Regions from separate parts of the Homo sapiens genome. Here region 2 is linked to region 1. Evidence: promoter capture Hi-C in 16 types of primary human blood cells and fetal thymus (Javierre and others, 2016). All regions are on one chromosome and are shown on one strand. The core of a region is centred on a gene start or on the middle of the fragment in contact, and the rest is flanking DNA. Distances in the headings are between cores, read along the strand shown. Region 1 holds the start of LINC00525 (long intergenic non-protein coding RNA 525). Region 2 overlaps TNS3 (tensin 3).

Region 1 (3,250 bases), core at 429-2,928:
CTTGAAAAGTTGGGTGAAGAGGATAAGATTTTTCGTATAAGATAATACAGGCTTCAAAAAGTTGGAAAAAGAGCACATTTAGAAAGTCCCAGAGCTGGGATTTGAACCCCTGTGCTTCTGATTCTAAATTGCTTCCCACCACGCTCATGGTGACCTCTAGAAGGTGTTAGTGAGGTGGAGATGTACCCGGTAATCCTGCCAGTGCATCTGTGCACTGATTCTCTATTGCTGGCTGTCCTTCTTGGCATCTTATTCAACAATAGCTACTGTAAGGGGGGAAATAGTCTTATATTTTGTGAAAGAACTCAAATGGCCAATTCATATATGGCCAGTTTACTTAAGAATGAATTACCGACCGGGCACAGTGGCTCATGCCTGTAATCCCAGCACTTTGGGAGGCTGAAGCGGGTGGATCCCCTGAGGTCAGGAGTTTGAGACCAGCCTGGCCAACATGGCAAAACCTCATCTCTACTAAAAATACAAAAATTAGCCGGGTGTGGTGGCTGGCACCTAAAATCCCAGCTACTTGGGAGGCTGAGGCAGAAGAATTGCTTGAACCCAGGGGGCGGAGGTTGCAGTGAGCCCAGATTGTGCCACTGCACTCCAGGCTGGGCAACGGAGCAAAAACAAAAAACAAAAAAGAATGAATTACCAGGCTCTAAAAACCTATCAGTAAGCTTTTTTTTTTTTTTTTTAAAGACGGAACTTGATGCTAAGGAAATTGCAACAACACAATGTCCTAATACACTGTTGACAAGATTAAAAAATTTTTTATTTTTAATTTTTGTGGGTACACAGTAGGGGTATATATTTATGGGGTACGTGGGATGTTTTAATACAGGCATGCAATGTGAAATAGGCACATCATGAAGAATGGGGTATCCATACCCTCAAGCATTTATTCTTTGTGGTATAAACAATCCAATTATACTTTTAATTATTTTAAAATGTACACTTAAATTATTATTGACTATAGTCTCCCTGTCGTGCTATCAAATAGTAGGTATTATTCATTCTTCTATTTTTTTTTTTGGTACCCATGAACCATTCCCACCTTATCTCCCCAGTCCTCTACTATCCTTTTCAGCCTCTGGTAATCATCCTTCCTATTCTCTATGTCCATGATTTCAATGGTTTCGATTTTTAGATCCCACAAATAAGTGAGAACATGTGATGTTTGTCTTTCTGTGCCTGGCTTATTTCACTTAACATAATGTCCTCCAGTTTCGTTCCATCCATGTTGTTGCAAATGACAGGATCTCATTCTTTTTATGGCTGAATAGTACTCCATTGTGTATATGTACCACATTTTCTTTATCTGTTCATCTGTTGATGGACTGTAAATTTGCTTCTAAGTCTTAGCTATTGTGAACAGTGCTGCAACAAACATGGGAGTGCAGATATCTCTTCAATATACTGATTTCCTTCCTTTTGGGTATAGACCCAGCACTGGGATTGCTGGATCATATGCTAGTTCTATTTTTAGTTTTTTGAGGAACCTCCCAACTGTTCTCCATAGTGGTTGTACTAATTTACATTCCCACTAACAATATACTAGTGTTCCCTTTTCTCCACATCCTCACCAGCATTTGTTATTGCCTGTCTTTTGGATAAAAGCCATTTTAACTGGGGTGAGATATCTCATTGTAGTTTTGATTTGCATTTCTCTGATGATCAGTGACGATGACCACCTTTTCATATGCCTGTTTGCCATTTGTAAGTCTTCTTTTGAGAAATATCTATTCATTTCTGATTTTTTATTTGGATTACTAGATTTTGATTTCTGATTGGATTACTAGATGTTTTCCTGTTGAGTTGTTTGAGCTCCTTATATATTCTGGTTATTAATTCCTTGTCAGATGGGTAGTTTGCAAATATTTTCTCCCATTCTGTGGGTTGTTTCTTCACTTTAAGAAGATCATTAATTGCCTTAATCATTCTAAAAAGTGATTTGGCAAATAAGGGTTGAATTGTGTCCCCCAAAATGTCTATGTCCAAGTCCTAACCCCTAGTACCTCAGAATGCAACTGCATTTGGAAACAGGGTTTTTGAAAATGTGATCAAATTAAAATGAGGTTATACTAGAGTAGAGTGGGCATGTAATCCAATATGACTCATCCAATATGACCGGTGTCCTTATAAAGAAGAGGAGATTTGGCTGGGCATGGTGGCTCATGCCTGTAATCCCAGCACTTTGGGAGGCCGAGGTGGGTGGATCACCTGAGGTCAGGAGTTCAAGACCAGTCTGGCCAACATGGAGAAACCCTATCTCTACTAAAAATACAAGAAAAAAAAATAGCTGGGCATGGTGGCAGGCACCTGTAATCCCAGCTACTTGGGAGGCTAAGGCAGCAGAATCGCTTGAACCCGGGAGGCAGAGGTTGCAGTGAGCCGAGATTGCGCCATTGCACTCCAGGCTGGGCAACAAGAGTGAAACTCCATCTCAAAAAAAAAATTAATAAATACATAAAAAATAATAAAAAGGGGAAATTTGGACCCAGACATGCCTGGAGGGAAGATGATGGGAAGAGACACAGAGAGAAGATGGTTGTCCTCAAGCCAAGGAGAGAGGCCTGCAACAGATTCTCCTTCAGCCTTTAGAAGGAACAACACTGCCAACACCTTGATCTTAGACTTCTGTCCTCCAGAAATTGTGAGACAATGCATTTTTGTTGTTTAAGGCAACCAATTTGTGGAACTTTGTTCTGGCAGCCCTAGCAAATGAATACAACAAAATATATACTGTATTGAGAACCTTAATATTGGCAATACCATTTGCACAGGAACTCCTTGCCTTTGGTTGCCACCTAAGAAATCATGCATATGGACATGGAATTACACATAAAGTATATTTAGCTAGTTTTTCTTCAACATGCTATTGCAGGAGGACAATTCAAAAATCTTTCCAACTCCCACCTGATTTCTGAAGGTTCTCTGGGAGCCTGCGCATCAGCCATCAAAACACACTTGTCACATTTTTCTTTCCTTTTGGCCTCCTTTAGTGAAGTCAGCTGCCTGAGGCTGGGCGGAGGTGCTCAGCACTCCCTCTGGTTTGTGGGGGGCTGGGGTGGGTCACACTTATTCTACTGGATATCACTGTTCCTGGGCCCTGCCACCACTCTCAGCCCTGGTGCTGTGGATTCTGTTCATGAGAGGGGCTGAAGTCAAGCCTCCCTCTCAGGCCCAGATCTGAGTCTACAGGTCAGCCGGGGCTGGGGCCTCACGGTAGCAGGTGGTGACAGAGGACATG
Region 2 (3,250 bases), core at 375-2,874, 300 kb before region 1:
GTCCTCAGGTGCACCCTGAACTTGCTCCTAGCAGCTCACAAGCAGAAGCTTGAGCCTATCAGGAGACTCTGGGAAGAGGACATAGTCTGAGGCACCAAAAAAAGGAAGTATATCTGCTCAGGTCAATCCTAAAACCTATTGAGACAGTACGTCTCATGCCAAAATAATGTCAATATGCCACATACATGACGTTTACACTACACAGAAACATGGGTGATCTTACTCAATTTCTTACAGGTGAGGAAATAATGTCCTTGGTATCTAACTGACCCGTTCAAGGTCATCTGGTTAGTCAGCTGAGGCCACGTCTGCCCAGGATGAGTGCTCTAGGCCAGGGCCCACGGGCTCCTCCCAACTCCCACACACACACGCCATGGGACAGTCACCTGGGGCTCTGCCAAAGGGCAGCTTCACTAGCTGAGCACAGGGCATCCATTTCCCTTTTAAACATGGGGACAGATGTGTCCTCTAACCTCTGAGGCTTCCATCTGGAAGTGCCTCATGAGTCAGTGGCTCACATTTAGAACAGCTGTGCCTCCTGGATGCCCCAACCTTTTTTCTCCCTCATTTCTATCCCAGAGAGATTAGATGTCCTGTACAAATTGGATCTGAAAATGATAATAAAATAAAATGTAATATAAAACAAGATGAAATAAAATCAGTCTGCGCTGGGATGAGCTGTGAAAAACGGGGCTGCTCAAGCCACCTCCTGTGAGCACAAGCCAACCACAGACGAAGCCTTCTGCATGAGGAACAAGCAGTCCCCCCATCCCTTCCCGCAGGTGCAGGCTTGCAGCTCGGGAGTCAGACCCCAGGCATGTAGGTCCCAGGCCATCTGAGGAGCCTGTGTAGACCCCTGTGGCTGAAGAGCAGGGCCTCACTGCCCTTGAGAGGCTAGCTCTGAGAACCAGCTTTTTAAATAACAAGTACCACCTACTTTCATTCTTATGATAAAAGTTACTTGGTTATAGAAAATTCAGAAAGTAGACATATACAAAAAGAAGCAGACAGAATCAGCCTCTCTCTCCCTCCCATACCCCAAGATAACCAACTTTAGCCAGATAGGATGGACCCCTAAATAAGTACGGGCGACTTTCTTCCGCCCATACTTATTTAAAAGCCAAATGGTGCTTTATGTCCATATCACTATATTTTCTTCTGCACTGCAATTTTTAACAGTGGCATAGTACCCAATTATCCAGATGGAACATAATCCCTCTTTAACAGCATGTTTTTTGGTCTCAAATTTCCCACTCTTATGAATGATGCTATGAGAAACATTCTATAGTTTAAAATGTTAACATCCTTAGTGGCTGCCTCGGGATAAACACCCAGAGATGCCATGTGCTTTGGGGTCCACATCACTAGGACTTCCTCTAGAAAGTGCTGTGACTTCCAGGACCACATGCATCATCCCAGAGAAGAGGAAACATACAAAACATGAAACCCATTCCATCTTTTTCTATTTAAGCATATTTTATCCCCTTTCCAAAAAAGAAACTATCTTGTCAAAGGTAAAGAGACTTGAAGTGTCTGGATAGTTATGAAACCAGTGTCCCAGAGAACACAGCAGAGGAGAAAACGGCACCTCCAAACCTCTCTGCAAGCACCTTCATCCCCTCCCAGGTCAGTCTCAGGCCCCAAGTGGACTATGCCACTGGAGTGTCCTAGAATGTAAATTCCCCCACAAGAGAACCACGGCAGGCCTCCATATCCCCACACAGGGCCCAGTGTCTGGTGCATCAGAGGTCCCCAGGACATAAATATTTATAAACTGATTGATTAATGAAGGAGGGGCAGGGCAGTGGAAGAGAGGACTCATCTGTTCCATAATCAAGACCATAACTTCAAGTTTATGATTTATTACCCACCATATCTGGCAAAGGTAGCACCGTCCTCCTCCCCACTGGAGACTGACAAAATGCCTGGTACCATCTGTTAATGGATGAAATGCATTCCCACAAACATCCATATGTTGAAGTCCTAGTGCCCAGGACCTCAGAGGGTGACAGTTTGGAAACAGGATCTTTAAAGAAGTGATTAAGTTAAAATGACACCATTAGGGTGGCCCTAATCCAGTATGAGTGGTGTCTTTATAAAAAGAGGAGATTATCCTGGCTAACACGGTGAAACCTCGTCTCTACTAAAAATACAAAAAATTAGCCATGCATGGTGGCGGGCTCCTGTAGTCCCAGCTACTCGGGAGGCTGAGGCAGGAGAATGGCGTGAACCTGAGAGGCGGAGCTTGCAGTGAGCCGAGATCGCACCACTGCACTCCAGCCCGGGCGACAGAGCAAGACTCTGTCCCAAAAAAAAAAAAAAAAAAAAAAAAAGAAGAGGAGATTAGGACACAGACACACATAGAGGGGCAGCCATGTGAGGACACAGGGAGAAAACGGCCACCTACAAGCCAATGAGAAAGCCCTCAGGAGAATCCAACCCTGCAGACACCCTCATCTCAGCCTTCCAGCCTCCAGGACTGAGGGTGATAACCGCCCATTGCTGCAGCTGCCCCGCACGGTGGTGCTTTGTCTTGGCAGCCTAAGCTGACTAAGACGACATCTGAAAGCTCTGAGATGCCTGGTGGGTGTTTGGGAAATGCTGCTGCCAGGAGCAACCTTCAGCTCCCAGGATGGGCAGGTGGCCTGGAGATGCTCACCTGCCGCCCTGCGCTCCCCTCACTTCACCCTCTCCTGGCAGGAAGCCAGGCTGACTGTGAACAGCAGCAATAAAGCAAGGAGTGGCATAAGGTGTGGGGCCGGAATGGCCCCTAGCCACACGTGGAAACGTTGCCTCCTCCTCCTGAATGTGTTAAATAAAAGGGAGAGGCAGTGGGGAAAACAATCCAGTAAGTCAAGCTGGTTAATGTAACTAGGAAGATTGGGCAATTTGATGGGCATGCCAAAATATTGAAGGAGGAGGAACAGCAGGAGCATCAAGACACAAGATATCCAACTACTTTCAGCTCTTCCTCCACCTAGTAACTTCCAATAAAGCTGAAGGAGGATGTGCTCTAAACCAGAGAGGTTTTATGTGCATCATATACCTTAACATTACAGATCTATAGATCCCGCCATGAGAAAATAAGTTTATTGAGCAATTAACTTCAAAATTTATTTTCCAGCTGTTAGAATGTGTCCAGTCTCACTGACAATGCTGGAGTTGAAAAAAAACGGGAAAGAGCATATTCCCGCCTTTGGGAAGCTTACAGTGAGATGAGGGGACACAGGCAGGTGTAAACATAAGACAG

The links. Contacts are between HindIII fragments. The CHiCAGO score rates a contact against its expected background, and 5 or more counts as called.
Region 2: a fragment that was not itself captured here is called in contact with the fragment with the promoter of LINC00525 in region 1 in 6 of 17 cell types (naive B cells, total B cells, M0 macrophages and 3 more); the score reaches 14.0 in naive B cells.

Annotation. Positions count from the first base shown.
Region 1 is chr7:47,759,798-47,763,047 of GRCh38, forward strand. LINC00525 (long intergenic non-protein coding RNA 525) reads left to right here and starts at 1,679. Exons shown (of 3, transcript NR_038407.1): 1 at 1,679-1,716. The HindIII fragment of the contact is 4,383 bases long and covers 676-3,250 here.
Region 2 is chr7:47,457,905-47,461,154 of GRCh38, forward strand. All of the region lies in intron 4 of TNS3 (tensin 3), which reads right to left. Among named protein-coding and RNA genes, the nearest start is that of SNORD151, 5.3 kb to the right of the region's middle. The HindIII fragment of the contact is 3,156 bases long and covers 47-3,202 here.